3 separate regions of the Homo sapiens genome follow, and regions 1 and 3 are each linked to region 2. The links are contacts of gene promoters, found by promoter capture Hi-C in human tissues and cell types (Jung and others, 2019). All regions are on one chromosome and are shown on one strand. The core of a region is centred on a gene start or on the middle of the fragment in contact, and the rest is flanking DNA. Distances in the headings are between cores, read along the strand shown.

Region 1 (4,638 bases), core at 41-2,540, 72 kb before region 2:
ATCCAGCTGATAGCAAGCACCAACTCAGACACATGTGTCAGGACATCTTACATTATCTAATCTCAGCTACGTTGTTGGTTGAGCCTCCAGAAGAGTAACTCTGAATAGTAAGCAAATTAAATGGCAGTTGTGTTATGTTACTAAGTTTTGGGGTAAATTTTTAATGGAGCAGTAGATATTTAACAGAGTACCCTCTGCCTTTGACTTTATATTTTCTCTTGCTAACAAGAACGAGTCTATTTTTACCTCTCTTAATTCTGGTTTGTCCCTGGGACTTGCTTTGAACAACGAGATGTTAGCAGATATGACGCAATAGAGGCTTTAAAAAGTACATTTGTGTTTTTGCTATATCTCTTGCTTCTCTTTGTTATGAAAAAGCCTGACTTGCTGGAGAAGAGACCCAGTTCTGAATTGCTCCAGCTCCCACGGAGGCTATCCAAGATCAGCTGATTCGCAGCTGATGGCCAGACACGTGAGTGCGCCCAGCTAAGGCTGGAACTGTCATGCCAACCTCAGTCTAAATTGATAACCCACAGACGTGTAAGCTCAATAAATGCCTATTGTTTTGAGCCATGAGTTTTGGGGTAAATTGTTATGCAGCATTACTATGACAATGGATAACTAATGCATCTCTGTTGCCTAAATGTTATGCACTCACGGCAGCTGCAAAAACACTGTCTTATCTATCCAAATGTCCCCATATGGTCCTCTCACTGCTCTAATTTTCTCAGTTCATCATCTTTTCTCAAGCCCATCTTAGTGACTCAGGTCTGAACTTGATTATTTAGTCCTGTTCCCAAAAGGCCTCTAGCATCACCTGCTACCTGATGAGCTTCATAAGTCTGAGATTTATGCGGCCTCTCAGTTTGATGATGAAACTCAGAATTTTTGAATAATTGATGGATAAAAATCACATTCACTGGGACTGATCCAATCAATTCTAATGCTGCTTGATAGCTGGCCCACTGCAGCAGTCCCTCCAACAGAAACACAAAATGGAACATTTCTTCTCATTTTAATGTTAATCATGAATTCCATATGCAAATTCTTGCTACTTCATACCCTGCTATACTAGCTTTCTAGGGGAGGGAAACAGTCTACCAGGGACATAAAGAGTCTGGTGTTTTTGATTCCTGAAATAAATGTAAATGCTGGGTCCTATATGTTCCCACTCACTCCTCTAGTATTATCAGTTACTAATATTTGCCATCTTTCCAGCATTTTCAGTGTTGTGTGCCAGTCATGAGTCAAATGACTCCCCCTGAGGTGGGACCATCTGGAAATTTCTCTATTTATGGAATCAGTAGTCTGTATCCATGTAAAGGCTACGTGGACCAGTTGAAAGACCGAGAGCAGCCACCGCGTCTCCACAGAGCCAGTCAGTAAAGCAGAAATACAAATTTGAACCAGTCCAAGCGTGTCTGATCTTTCTCTCTTTCTTGTGCCAAAAATAATTCTAATTTCTTTTTTTTTTTTTTGAGACAGAGTTTCACTCTTGTTTCCCAGGCTGCAGAGCGATGGCACAATCTCAGCTCACTGCAACCTCTGCCTCCCAGGTTCAAGCAAGTCTCCTGCCTCAGCCACCCAAGTAGCTGGGATTACAGGCATGCACCACCACACCCGGCTAATTTTGTATTTTTAATAGAGATGGGGTTTCTCCATGTTGGTCAGGCTGGTCTCGAACTCCCAGCCTCAGGTGATCCGCCCGCCTCAGCTTCCCAAAGTGCTGGGATTACAGGCGTGAGCCTCCACACACGGCCAATAATTCTACTCTCTAAAATGTAGTAAGTATGGCCGGGCGCAGTGGCTCACGCCTGTAATCTCTGCACTTTGGGAGGCCGAGGCAGGTGGATCACGAGGTCAGGAGATTGAGACCATCCTGGCCAACACAGTGAAACCCCGTCGCTACTAAAAAAAAACCACAAAAAATTAGCCGGGCGTGGTGGCGGGCACCTGTAGTCCCAGCTACTCAGGAGGCTAGGCAGGAGAATGGTGTGAACCCAAGAGGCAGAGCTTGCAGTGAGCCGAGATGGCGCCACTGCACTCCATCCTGGGTGACAGAGCGAGACTCTGTCTCAAAAAAAAAAAAAAAAAAAGTAGTAAGTATGCATTGTGTCTGGGTTCAAAACTAATATTCAACTTTGTGAGTGAGCTGTTTATATGTTCTCATTTAGTAAATTCATGAAATGTTATGTGATATTGGTCTCTGCCTGGATCGTCCATTCTTGAACCATGCTTTCTCTCATAAACTGCAATTCCAAGCTCAGCATGATCTCCTCAATGCCCCTCTGAATCACCCATGCTAGTCTAAGCTGCTCACCCAGCTAAATGATTATTAACATGAAAGGGCAAATTCCTGTTTATAGGGATAGTTTTTCCTCAAATTCAGAATATAACATATTCATGTCATACATGTGTTATTTAACATACTTTTTATGATAAATATTGTCATCCTTGAGATTAAAAAATCCACTGCATATAAGAAGTCTTTGTTTCTGTAAGATATGAATAATACATTATTAAAAGCAGTCATAATCATTGCTCACTTAACAGAGTAATGTCTATTTCAGTTGCCTCAATAGGGCTTAAGATGGGTTGGATCATTAACAGTATGGAAAGGAACTATAAGTTTAATGTATAAGATATACTATAGTGTCCAATTGGTTTTTTAAAGGCTCTTTTTCTGATTCTTGGCAACAATTAAACTATACTTCATGTGGTACTGAATTAACCAGAAGTAGCAGGATCATTTTACACCTATAGTTAGTACTTTTCCTATTTAAGGTGAACTGGACTACGGTATCTCTAGAAATATTCTGCTTTGCCTAAATGATGCGTTGCATACTAACTGCAATGCAATGCCATTTTCCTGCTGATCACTCTGTATTGTCCTAGATGTCTTTTCTCTTATGATTGGCCGCCATTTGGCAGTGGCTACTTAAGCCACTTTCCTCATAAGAGAGTTCAGTAAATAAACACTTAAATGCACCAGGGGTGTAGCTTTTACAAAGTCCTTGGTAATTCACATAATCACCCCCTAATGTTTTATAAGAATCTTTGAGCAAAGCTTGCTGTTATACTGTCCCATGGGGTAAGAGCACTTCCCCCAAAGATAATGTGAACACATGTTTTAAAGTCTATTACATGGTTTGAAGTAAATGGTATGTAGAGGGAAAAAATAATAAAGTTCAAATAAGCAAGCACACAGTTTTCAATAACATTGGACGATTTCTACTGAGAATTGATATCTAAAAGATTCATGGCATGTCAATTTAACAGAAGGAAGCACAAGCCAATGGGAAAAGTTGAAAGAATGAAATTGACATAAGCAAGAAAAAAGGAGGAGGGGTTCTCCAAACAGGGTGAGTTCAATATTAAAAAAAAAATCAAATAAAATCAAGAGGGTAGGATTTTATAAAGTATTCTTAAGTCCCTCGTCTTAATAACTTCTCCTTTCCTCTCCCAGGAGGCCTGCATCTGTGACAGTAATATTAAATGTCAAGTGTTGCGACAAACGGTGATGCCCTTTCATTGCTCTCATCACCTATTTATGCTAAGCTTATAGAAGGCTTCTCTGATTAGAAGTCATTGACAGAGAAGCTCAGCATGGTTTCTTTTGAACAGTCATAAATAGTTGAAGACTTGCAGTATGCATAAAATTAGAATTCCTAATAATTTCCCAGCAGAGAAAATATCATTTTTTTATAATTTAAAAATATACTCAGCCATAGGTTTAAATACACCATACATTCAAATCTTAGCATCAGGCTAAAATCTCTTCTATTTAATATTCAATTTAATGTTTAAAGCCATTGGATCAGATTCTTATGTCAGATGTCTTCTTTGGTTCTTATCTTTGGAGATTATATTACTTTGATGTTACTGGGAAAGAACTATGGCATCCGAACACCTCACAACTGGCATGGCCTTAGATTTTTGCTTTGCCTAAGTTCCTGGAAGAACCACTTCTAACGCTAGGTCTCCAACTCCATTGCCCACACAATACCACTACTCTGTGTCCAAGGATACTTATTTTTAATACAAATATTTTTCAGTGGAATCATAGCCTGTCATTTATTTATTATTTTCTTTTAATGAACAGAAGAATTTGAATCCTTCCGGCTCTTTTTTTACCAGCTCTGTCAGTTTTAATCAAGTTACTAGTCTTCTTTGAGCTTCAGTTTTTTATTTGTTAAATGATATTAGATAATTTCTCAGGTCTCTCCAGACACTCAGATATTATATGCTACGCCTTTCACTACTGAACATGTTACATTTAGTATCAGAGAAAAATTTATTGGACATTTTTCTGTGAGTCCATCTTTCTATGAACTGAGTCTTCATAGCTCATAGAGCTGGTTAAAATATCAAAAACCAGAAAAGGTCATAGTGTTTGGCTATCCTGGATGAAAACTGAACTTCTATGGGTGTTCACCATTTTCTTGGACAATTATGGCAACCTCTTCTTGATATTTCCTAACTGGGAACTACCTTTTCTCTTCTGCCCAGTAGCATAGGGTTCTTTCCCCTATGTAAGTTTCACAGAGCCCCTTGCTGGTTAACATCAAGACAGCGGGAGTGGGGTGGTTTTAGACTGAGCTCACTGTAGAGAAAAGTTTGTAAATCTAGTGGATTTAG
Region 2 (4,226 bases), core at 1,418-3,917:
TCCAATGTTAATAAGTAGAATTAGAACTGTTTTTCAATTGCATAAACACAAAATACAAAACACTTTGCTTCTTAGATAAATCAGAATTGGAGGATGGGGCCTACCTACTGCTGTACTGTAATCTTGTTAAAGAGTTTTACATTTGGGAATTTATTGAAAGAGCAGATACCAGTGGTCAGTAACATTGCTAGGAATAGTGGTAGGGTGAGTGTATAGGTGATTTACTCTGGCTAGAAAACAGCTGTCACAAGTTCCATTTCTTCTGGGATATCCTTTAAGGTGGAATGCTTGGCAAAATCAATGTACATCAGAGTCCATAACTCATAATGAAATAGGCTTCCATGGGGAACTGTTGTACCCTGAAGCATGAGCACTAAGTCAGATACACTTGTCACTATGTGGTACGGTCTGATTGTTTGTGTCCCTCAAAATTTATATGTTGAAACTGAGTCCCCGAGGTGATGGTATTAGGAGGTGAGGACTTTGGGAGGTGATTGGCCATGAGAGTGGAGCCCTCATAAACGATATTAGTGCCATTAATAGAAGTTCTACAGAGCTGCTTTGCCCCTTTTACCATGTAAGGTCACAGTCAGAAAGTCCTATCTATGAGGAAACACACCTTTACTAGGCACTAAATCTGCTAGCAACTTGGTCTTGGACTTCACAGCCTCCATAACTGCGACCAATAAATTCCTGTTATTTGTGAGTTACTCAATATATGGTATTTTGTTATAGCAGCACAAGTGAACTGTGACACTATGTGTCTGGAAGATGTGAACAACTTGAGAACTTAGGTTTTTCTTAGGTACAACGGAGATAATACTAGTACCAGATTAGTGATGAAAAATGTTATGCAAAATATTTAGCACAAGCCATGTTATGTAATAAGTACTTCTAAGTGTTTACAGTGACGACTTCACAAAAGCCTGGCTGTAAAAGTTTGGGAAGTCAGGCTTCTCTGGTTGGCTTGGAAGACCATGTTAGTTATCAGACAAGCCAGGGATTTTGAGTAACCCCAATTCTTGAGGGGAAGAAAGTAGAGTGGAAGAGGAGCCAAAATTACTAATAGTCCTTCATCTGAGCTAGATTTTTGATATCTGTTGGTTTTGTGGAAAATCCAAACCTAATGTCTTTTATTGAAATTCCCCATCTCGTGGATGGTCTAGGACTGAATTGAGTTATGTAAAATATCATTTGTGGAGTGATATTCATTTGTATACCTTTTCAGTTCGAAACAGTCAAAAGTCTCTCTCTCTCTCTCTCTCTCTCTCTCACACACACACACACACACACACACACACACGTACACACCCACACACAGCCTTAACCCTGGCCACCTCTATACTATTTCTGGAATCCCAGATTCTATAAAACTATTTTAGTTTCTAACAAATGTCTTGGTCTTTATGATGGTCACCACCATGAAACACAGTTACTTTACACTTTCTTGCCTTGTTCATAAATATTCCCCAAGTAAAATTACTTGCTACACTTTTCCCATTTAAATTTGCATTGGCTAAGTGAGAGACATCTCTACAGATTGCTCAATTTTAGGAAAATAACCATTCCCAAGAAACACAAACAAGTCAAATCAAGATAGTTACCAGGAGCAATTCTTTATATTATCCAGTTGCACAACACACTTCTTGAATAAATGACATATCCTAATTTAGGATACATCACCAGATTCAAGTCAGAGAGTATCCTGTGCCAGTCAATAAGAGTGCGGGTCACTGGAAGATCCCTTCGTAGAATTTTTCTCAGGGCTTCATTGGATAACTCCTGTAATTCTTCCAAGACTGCAGCTTGAAATTTGTTCTCTTGCTCTTCCACAAGCCTTGCAAAACTTAGAGCCAGTTGAGCTTGGTTAACTATTTCCAAGCTTTCTTTCAGGTCCTTGGATATTTCAATATGAAGGTTGACACACCTGAAGAAGTGAGCTTGCACAAATATTCTTCCCGTTACTTGGGTTAGAAATGGGTTAACTTGGAAAATCCATTTAGATTTCCAAAGTCCGTTCCAGCACTCTCCTGTTTCATAGTTGTGATCTTCAATGCAAGCTATCAAGTACTCCTTACTTTTGACAGTTTTTCTCAGCATGTTGCAATTTCCTTTTGGATAGTGGTCATTCACATACAGTTTTAAGGCGCACAGAAGAACAACTCTCAGGTATTCTGCCTCATTCTGAATGATACCATGACTTTGGATGTCTTTCAGCTGATTTTGAAGCAGGTCATATTTGAAAGAAAGTTTGCTTTGATGGTCAAAAAATCGGTAGTCGCCCATTACATTGTGGTGAGACAAGAGTACTGGATTTCCATCGATGCAGAGTGGTACAGAATATTTTTGGCAGTGTTGGTGGCCTGCACACTCACCTTGGTGGTGCATAAGTTTTTCATCACGGATAAGCAGACAGAGATCATCAAAGGCATTTACAAATTCCCCTGGAGGGGCCTGTAATAACAGTCTGCGAATTACTCTTTCCTTGTCCTTCCTGCTCAGCACGCTAAGTGTCATGTTTGGTTGCAACAGAAGCAAAGCTTCTGAAATGAGGAGTGTTCAAAGGATAAGAAAACATTCCATGAGCCACCTTTCCCATCAAGGTGTTAACATTCAAGCTGAAGGTTTTTATGTCTATCCATGAAAGCAGGCAGTCTGGCAAGGTCTGAGCCTCCTGATGAGGTCATAAGAAGCTTTCCTTGTGAAGTGTGGAACCTCTGATGATATCACAATGGGAATTCAGACCAAAAGGAAAAAATGACAGTCACCTGACAGTGTGGTGCCCAGCCAACCAGCTATACCTCTTTTGAAGATTTTAAGAACTTAGCCTCCTGAACAGTCTTCTTCGAAAGTGGTGTGTCTCTGTGTGCATTATATGTTGTCAACGATCTAGAGAAGCAGCCCAAAGTTTCAAGAGTGACAGCACTTTGCAACTTCAGGAATCACAATGGTGTTGATTTATACTCAGGCTCTCAGAGTAGCTGCCCAAACCCACTGGAAGCATATTATGATGAAAGGTTTGAGGGGTTTAAACAAAGTAGTAAAAAATAAAAGGAGATACAATGGCAGTTCATGGAAAAATGCCAGACATCAGGGAAAGCTGTGTTTTCAAATATTGTGGGTTTGGAGGTGGTCAGAACGTAAGAAGCCAAACAGTTTCAAGGGCAGGGTAGTGCAGGTACCACATCTTGCATACTGTTTCTATGGTTAAGTGTGAGCTAGCTTCAAAGAACGAAGGCAAAAAAAACCACTGTGTGTTCTCTGCTTTCTCCCTAGAAAAGTGGTAACAGCTGATGAGTATCAAGAAATTATTTTCTGCAAAGGGGCAGAGTTAATTGTATTTGGAACCCATGACAGCACCTACTGGGGAAAGACTTCTAAGTGAGGAGAAACGGCTCTACAGGTCATGAAACTATGGAAATGAGATATCCATTGAGAGCTTCTTTCTGCTCCTCTTCTTCTTTCTCCTACTTATCCTCTTTACTTGATGCTGTTATTCTTTTCGAGGAGTTCTGAATTTAAGTCCTCTTCATTTAAGTTGAACTGCTTTTCCCTGTTTGTTCTGAGCTTTTCTAACTTTCCCTGCATTCTGGTATCTTTTTCTTACAAGAACATGAGCTTTGCTGGATTAAGTCATAACTATTAAATTTAAGGAGATCTCATTAATTCGTTCTAACAATCTGAAACTTAGTAGTTTTGCACAATTTTTACCTATACCTTTTATAATTTTAGTGATAATTGTCATTATCTCATTTCGATCTTAGTTTTTCAAATGGAAGTGTCCTAGTTTTTGTAGTTTATCTATGATAAGTAAGCTTTTAAAAATTTTTTTCGTTTTTCATACCAAATATACACTCACCATGGTATTTCTGATGCTTTTTGATGGTACTGTCTTGAGTGTGTGTGTAGCTGGGCATTGGACTAATGTAGTAATAATAACTTTATCAGTCATGGTTACTATTTATTGAACACTAAGTAGCAGAAACTGTGTTCGGTGGCATATTAGGAATTCATCTAATGCTTCCACTTTCCTTAAGATTCAGGGTTAATTTGCTCACCTTTCTGGAAGAGAGAACTAAAACAGAGAGGTCAGGTGAGAGGCGATCTTGAAGTCTAGCTGCCTTCCAACTTCATGCCTTCAGGCAATAGATTGTTATAATGTTTTAATGTATGTTCTAAGTAATGACTTCAATTCTCAAATTTTAACTTTAATTCTTTTTTTTGTA
Region 3 (4,427 bases), core at 520-3,019, 110 kb after region 2:
TGACTGAGTCAATGAGGTGTGTATTAATAATATTTAGCTCTTTGAAAGTACTTCAGAGTTATTTGTTGAATCATCATTTGTAATGTAATATAAAAAAGATATTTAATTGAAATAGTTCCTGTTATCTATTGCAATATTTCTTATTGTAATACCAAGGAATAAAATGTCTATCATAGGGTAAAGTGAAAATATCTCGGGTTTATCCTAGGTGTTTACCCTAAACAGCTAGCCATCTGAAGGCATGTCTCTGATAGAAGTGACTTTCTCCTGCACATCATTTGGATTTTGTGGCTAATCAGGAGTAATCATGTCAAAGTCTGCTTGTCTCAATGCTCCACTTCTAAACTTTTGGCCTTATCCTATCTCTGAGTCAATATTAGGCAATTACACGCCAACTACCCTTCTTTATCCCCTCTACTCCCAACTGGAGCCAGACTTTATTTGTAACAGCATTATTCAAACTTAGTCCCAGAATTAATCCTTAGTCACCATCCTCCTCACTTTCTTTTAGAGACTTCATCTCTAATTGTGTTCCTTCCTTGGGGCCTTGTTTACTCCTCTGTGATATGCCTCATCACCTCTCCGGGTTTCTCCACCTTAACTCCTTGAAAATCTAGGCAATGAGCACAAGAAGTTCTTAAAATCTCCTAGGAGCTGATGATGACCTGACCATTTCTTAGGGACCTTGTAGGCAGAGACTGTGAGCTAAAGTTACATTTTTGTGCTGTATTCCTGTGCCCTCTCTCATATCTGTGCAAGTTCTCCCTCTCTGTTGTGCAGTACAAGGAAGAAACAAAAGAAAATCAGCACATTCCTTTGCTCTGGTGATATTAAGTTATTCAAAATTTATTGGAGAGGCATCGTATGGTGACCCATGGTTAGGCCAGGGGGCTGGATCCATGTTAACACCAAACATTCTCCACAGAGGGAATTAATACATTTCACTCAAGTTTGCTATTATTTTGTCAAATATATGTAAATGCTCTTGTTACCACAATTTTAATATTTTTAAAAGCACTGCTACATTTATAGTGGTTTTAAAAATTATTTTATATTTCTTAAATTATCAGATTATTTTTTCAGAGATGGGGTCTCACTACATTGCCTCAGCTGGCTTCCAACTCTCTGGCTCAAAAAATCCTCCTGCCTCAGCCTCCCAAGTAGCTGGAACTACCATGCCACTGTGCCCAGATAAATTATAAGATATTAAAAAGATTTCAGGGACACTTGATAGATAATTTTCTCTAAGTTTAAAAAGGTGTCCCACTACTTGGAAAGATTGGAAATGAAGACCTTAGGATCTTCTTAGAATTCACTAGTGAGGATACTTCTTTCTCAACTGAAGAGAGGAATACAGGGGATTCTTAGCTTAGTTATTATTTCAGGTTGCAAAACTTAAAATCTATGATGCATATTAGTAATTCTTTGTTCACAATGTTGACCTCTAAATGGTATTGTTTTAAGTACATGAATAATTAAATATACCAATCTTCTGCCTTTGTTTCTTGCCCCAGATTGCATATAGCATTTCAAATGGCTTTCAATGCTACTATTGTTCTTATCACCAACAAATTAAAATTATCTTAAAAACATGGGTAATATATCAAAACAGAAAAAAAGCAGTAGCATGTTAGTACAAAAACAAAGCACATTTTAAACTGTTTATAAAGTAAGTGAAACATCTAATATTATGGGGTATGCCAGCAACTCTTCAGTATTTTCATATGTGTATATGGGGAAAATATTTATTTTGCACTCATAGTAATAATAACAATAATAATAGCTATTACATAATGACTATTTACTATATTTAAAGAACTCTATTAAAATAATCCTCAGGCCAGGATTATCAGCTTCAGTTTATTGAGGAGGTTTTTCTATATAACCTATGTTCCTAATCACGATCCTATATTGATTCACTACAAAGAAAGACCAAGAAAGAAAGAGCACTTCTAGATCAAGTTTTACCAGGAATGTGATGAAGATACAGACGTGGTTTAAAAATATCAGATGCATTGGAAACTTCTGTAGATTAATCTAAGGCTTAATTGTATTTAATAGGTTATTATCTTTTCAATGAATAATTTATGAGAATTTTTCATCTTTTCTTTAGCTTAAATGTCTCCAATCATAGGATAATATAAGCTTTAGTGGAAATCAACTGATGATTAAAATATGATGGAACTATCAAAACCTGAGGTCTATACCAGAAACAAAACAACATAATATAAAAGCATTTTCTCATCTATGTGCCTGTCACATTGCAGTTTTTAAATTCAGGTTAGCCATCATGAAAAGGGTCTGTTTATAAAATAATAGTGTATAATAAAAGCACTTGCGATATGATTTGTTTTTGTGCCTCAGTTAAATGGTAGAATGAATAATGGCTGAGGAGTGATGTCAGCAAGATGGGGCAGAATAGGAGGTCACCTACTTATATCTCCTTACAACAAGAATTCTGCACCCATCCACAGGTCTATCTCTGTCAAAGAACACTTGTAAAGGCCAGAAAAGGTGGCTGCCTCCACAAATGCACAAACACCAATGCAAGGACACAGGTTTACAAAAACTCAAGGAATCATGGCATCTCAAAAAGAAACCAAAAATGCTCCAGCAATGACGCCCAAAGAAAGGGATATCTAAGAAATGACAGAAAAATAATTCAGAATAACTCCGTAAAATAATTCAATGAACTCCAAGAATATATGGGCAAAAAGTAAAATTTGGAAAACAGTACTTGAACAAAATGAGAAGTTTGAGAAAGAAATAGAAATGATTTTAAAACCCCAAAAATAAATCATAGAGAAGAAGAATATAATGACTGAACTGAAAAAATGCAATAGAAATTTTCAACAGCCAGTGAAATCACACTGAAGAATCAGTGAGTGTGAAGACAGAACATTTGAAATTATCCAAGCAGAGGAGCAAAAAGAAAAAAAAAATGGAAGAAGGAAAATTTATGGGAATGTTGGTACACCATCAAGAGACCCAAGCCATGAGTAAAAGGAATTAAATACAGAGAGGAGGAATACAAGGGTCACAAAGCATATTTAAAGAAATAATGGATGATAAGTTCCCTAATATGACCAAAAAAGCTAACATCCAAATATAGGAACCACAGAAATCTCCAATCAAATTCAGAATTCAACACAACATATAAGAATCAAACTATTAAAAAAATCAAAGAAAAAATTCTGAGAGCAGCAAAAGGAGTCCCAATACAACTACCAGCAAACTTCTTAGCAGAAACCCTTCAGTCCAGGAGAGAGAGTGGGATGATATAGTAGAAGTGCTGAAAGAAGAAAAAGCCTACCAACCAAGACTATTTTACCCAGAAAATCTGTCTTTCAAAAATAAGGAAGAAATAAAAACTTTCCCAGACAAACCATGCCATGGGAGTTAATCATCATTAGGCTTGCATTACAGAAATTATTAAAGGGAGTTCTTTAAACTGAAAGAAAAATTTGTTAGCTAATAACATGAAACTTATGAAATCATGAAATCTAATGGTATAAATAATACCGAACAACATTCAGAACACTCTTAAGACTATAACGGTGGTGTGTAAAGTAATATTATCCCAGGCACAAAGACAAAATTATTAATAAGAACTATAGCTAAAATAAACTGTCAAGGAATACATATTACAAAATAATATATATTCAGACATAAAAAACATAAAATGGTGTGTGAGGAGAAAAGTATAGAGTTGTTGTATGCAATGAAAGTTACATTGTTATTGGCTTGAAATAGACTGTTGTAAGCGAAAGATATTATTTGTAAGCATCAGGGTAACCAAGGAGAAAAAATCTATAGAAAATGCACAAAACACAAATAAAAATATTGAAAACATACTACTACAGAAAACCATCAATCCACAAAGAAAGACAGCAACAGAGGAAGAAAAAAACCAAGTATCTACACATAAATAAAACAATACAGTTAGTAACAAAATGATACTAGTAAGTCTTTACCTGTCAATACTTACTTTGAATGTAAATGTATTAAATTCTTTAATAAAAGATACAAAGTGAGGTAATGGATAAAAAAATACAGGATCTAACTATATGCTGTCTGCAAGACGTTCACTTCACTTTTAAGGACACACAGACTAAAAGTGAGGGGATGAAAAACAATAGTCTGTGAAAACTGAAACCAAAAAAGAGCAGGGGTAGCAATACTTATATCAGACAAAATAGACTTTAAATAAAAAACTGCAAAAAGAGACAAAGACATTGTATAATGGTAAAGGGGTCAATTCATCAAGAGGGCATAGCACTTTTAAATATATATGCTTCTAACAGTGGAAGAGCTATATGTATAAAGCAAATATTAAAGTTTCTGAAGGGATAGATTCTTCTCAATACAATAATGGTAGGGAACTTCGATACATCACTTTCACTAGTGGACAGATCATCCATACAGAA

Evidence for each region. Contacts are between HindIII fragments. The study calls those that stand out against the background at their distance.
Region 1: a fragment that was not itself captured here is called in contact with the fragment with the promoter of CAPZA3 in region 2 in 2 of the 25 tissues and cell types used here (lymphoblastoid cells and spleen).
Region 3: a fragment that was not itself captured here is called in contact with the fragment with the promoter of CAPZA3 in region 2 in 3 of the 25 tissues and cell types used here (dorsolateral prefrontal cortex, mesenchymal stem cells and spleen).

Annotation. Positions count from the first base shown.
Region 1 is chr12:18,806,796-18,811,433 of GRCh38, reverse strand. The region is part of intron 4 of LOC102724227 (a long non-coding RNA gene); the gene reads right to left. Among named protein-coding and RNA genes, the nearest start is that of CAPZA3, 71 kb to the right of the region's middle. The HindIII fragment of the contact is 4,047 bases long and covers 1-3,313 here.
Region 2 is chr12:18,736,560-18,740,785 of GRCh38, reverse strand. It overlaps CAPZA3 (capping actin protein of muscle Z-line subunit alpha 3), which reads right to left and starts at 2,667. Exons shown (of 1, transcript NM_033328.3): 1 at 1,598-2,667. The coding sequence starts at 2,517. The coding sequence ends at 1,618. PLCZ1 (phospholipase C zeta 1) reads left to right here and starts at 2,774. Exons shown (of 15, transcript NM_033123.4): 1 at 2,774-2,854; 2 at 3,277-3,425. The coding sequence starts at 3,415. The HindIII fragment of the contact is 1,043 bases long and covers 2,212-3,254 here.
Region 3 is chr12:18,625,581-18,630,007 of GRCh38, reverse strand. All of the region lies in intron 31 of PIK3C2G (phosphatidylinositol-4-phosphate 3-kinase catalytic subunit type 2 gamma), which reads right to left. Among named protein-coding and RNA genes, the nearest start is that of PLCZ1, 110 kb to the left of the region's middle. The HindIII fragment of the contact is 9,314 bases long and covers 1-4,427 here.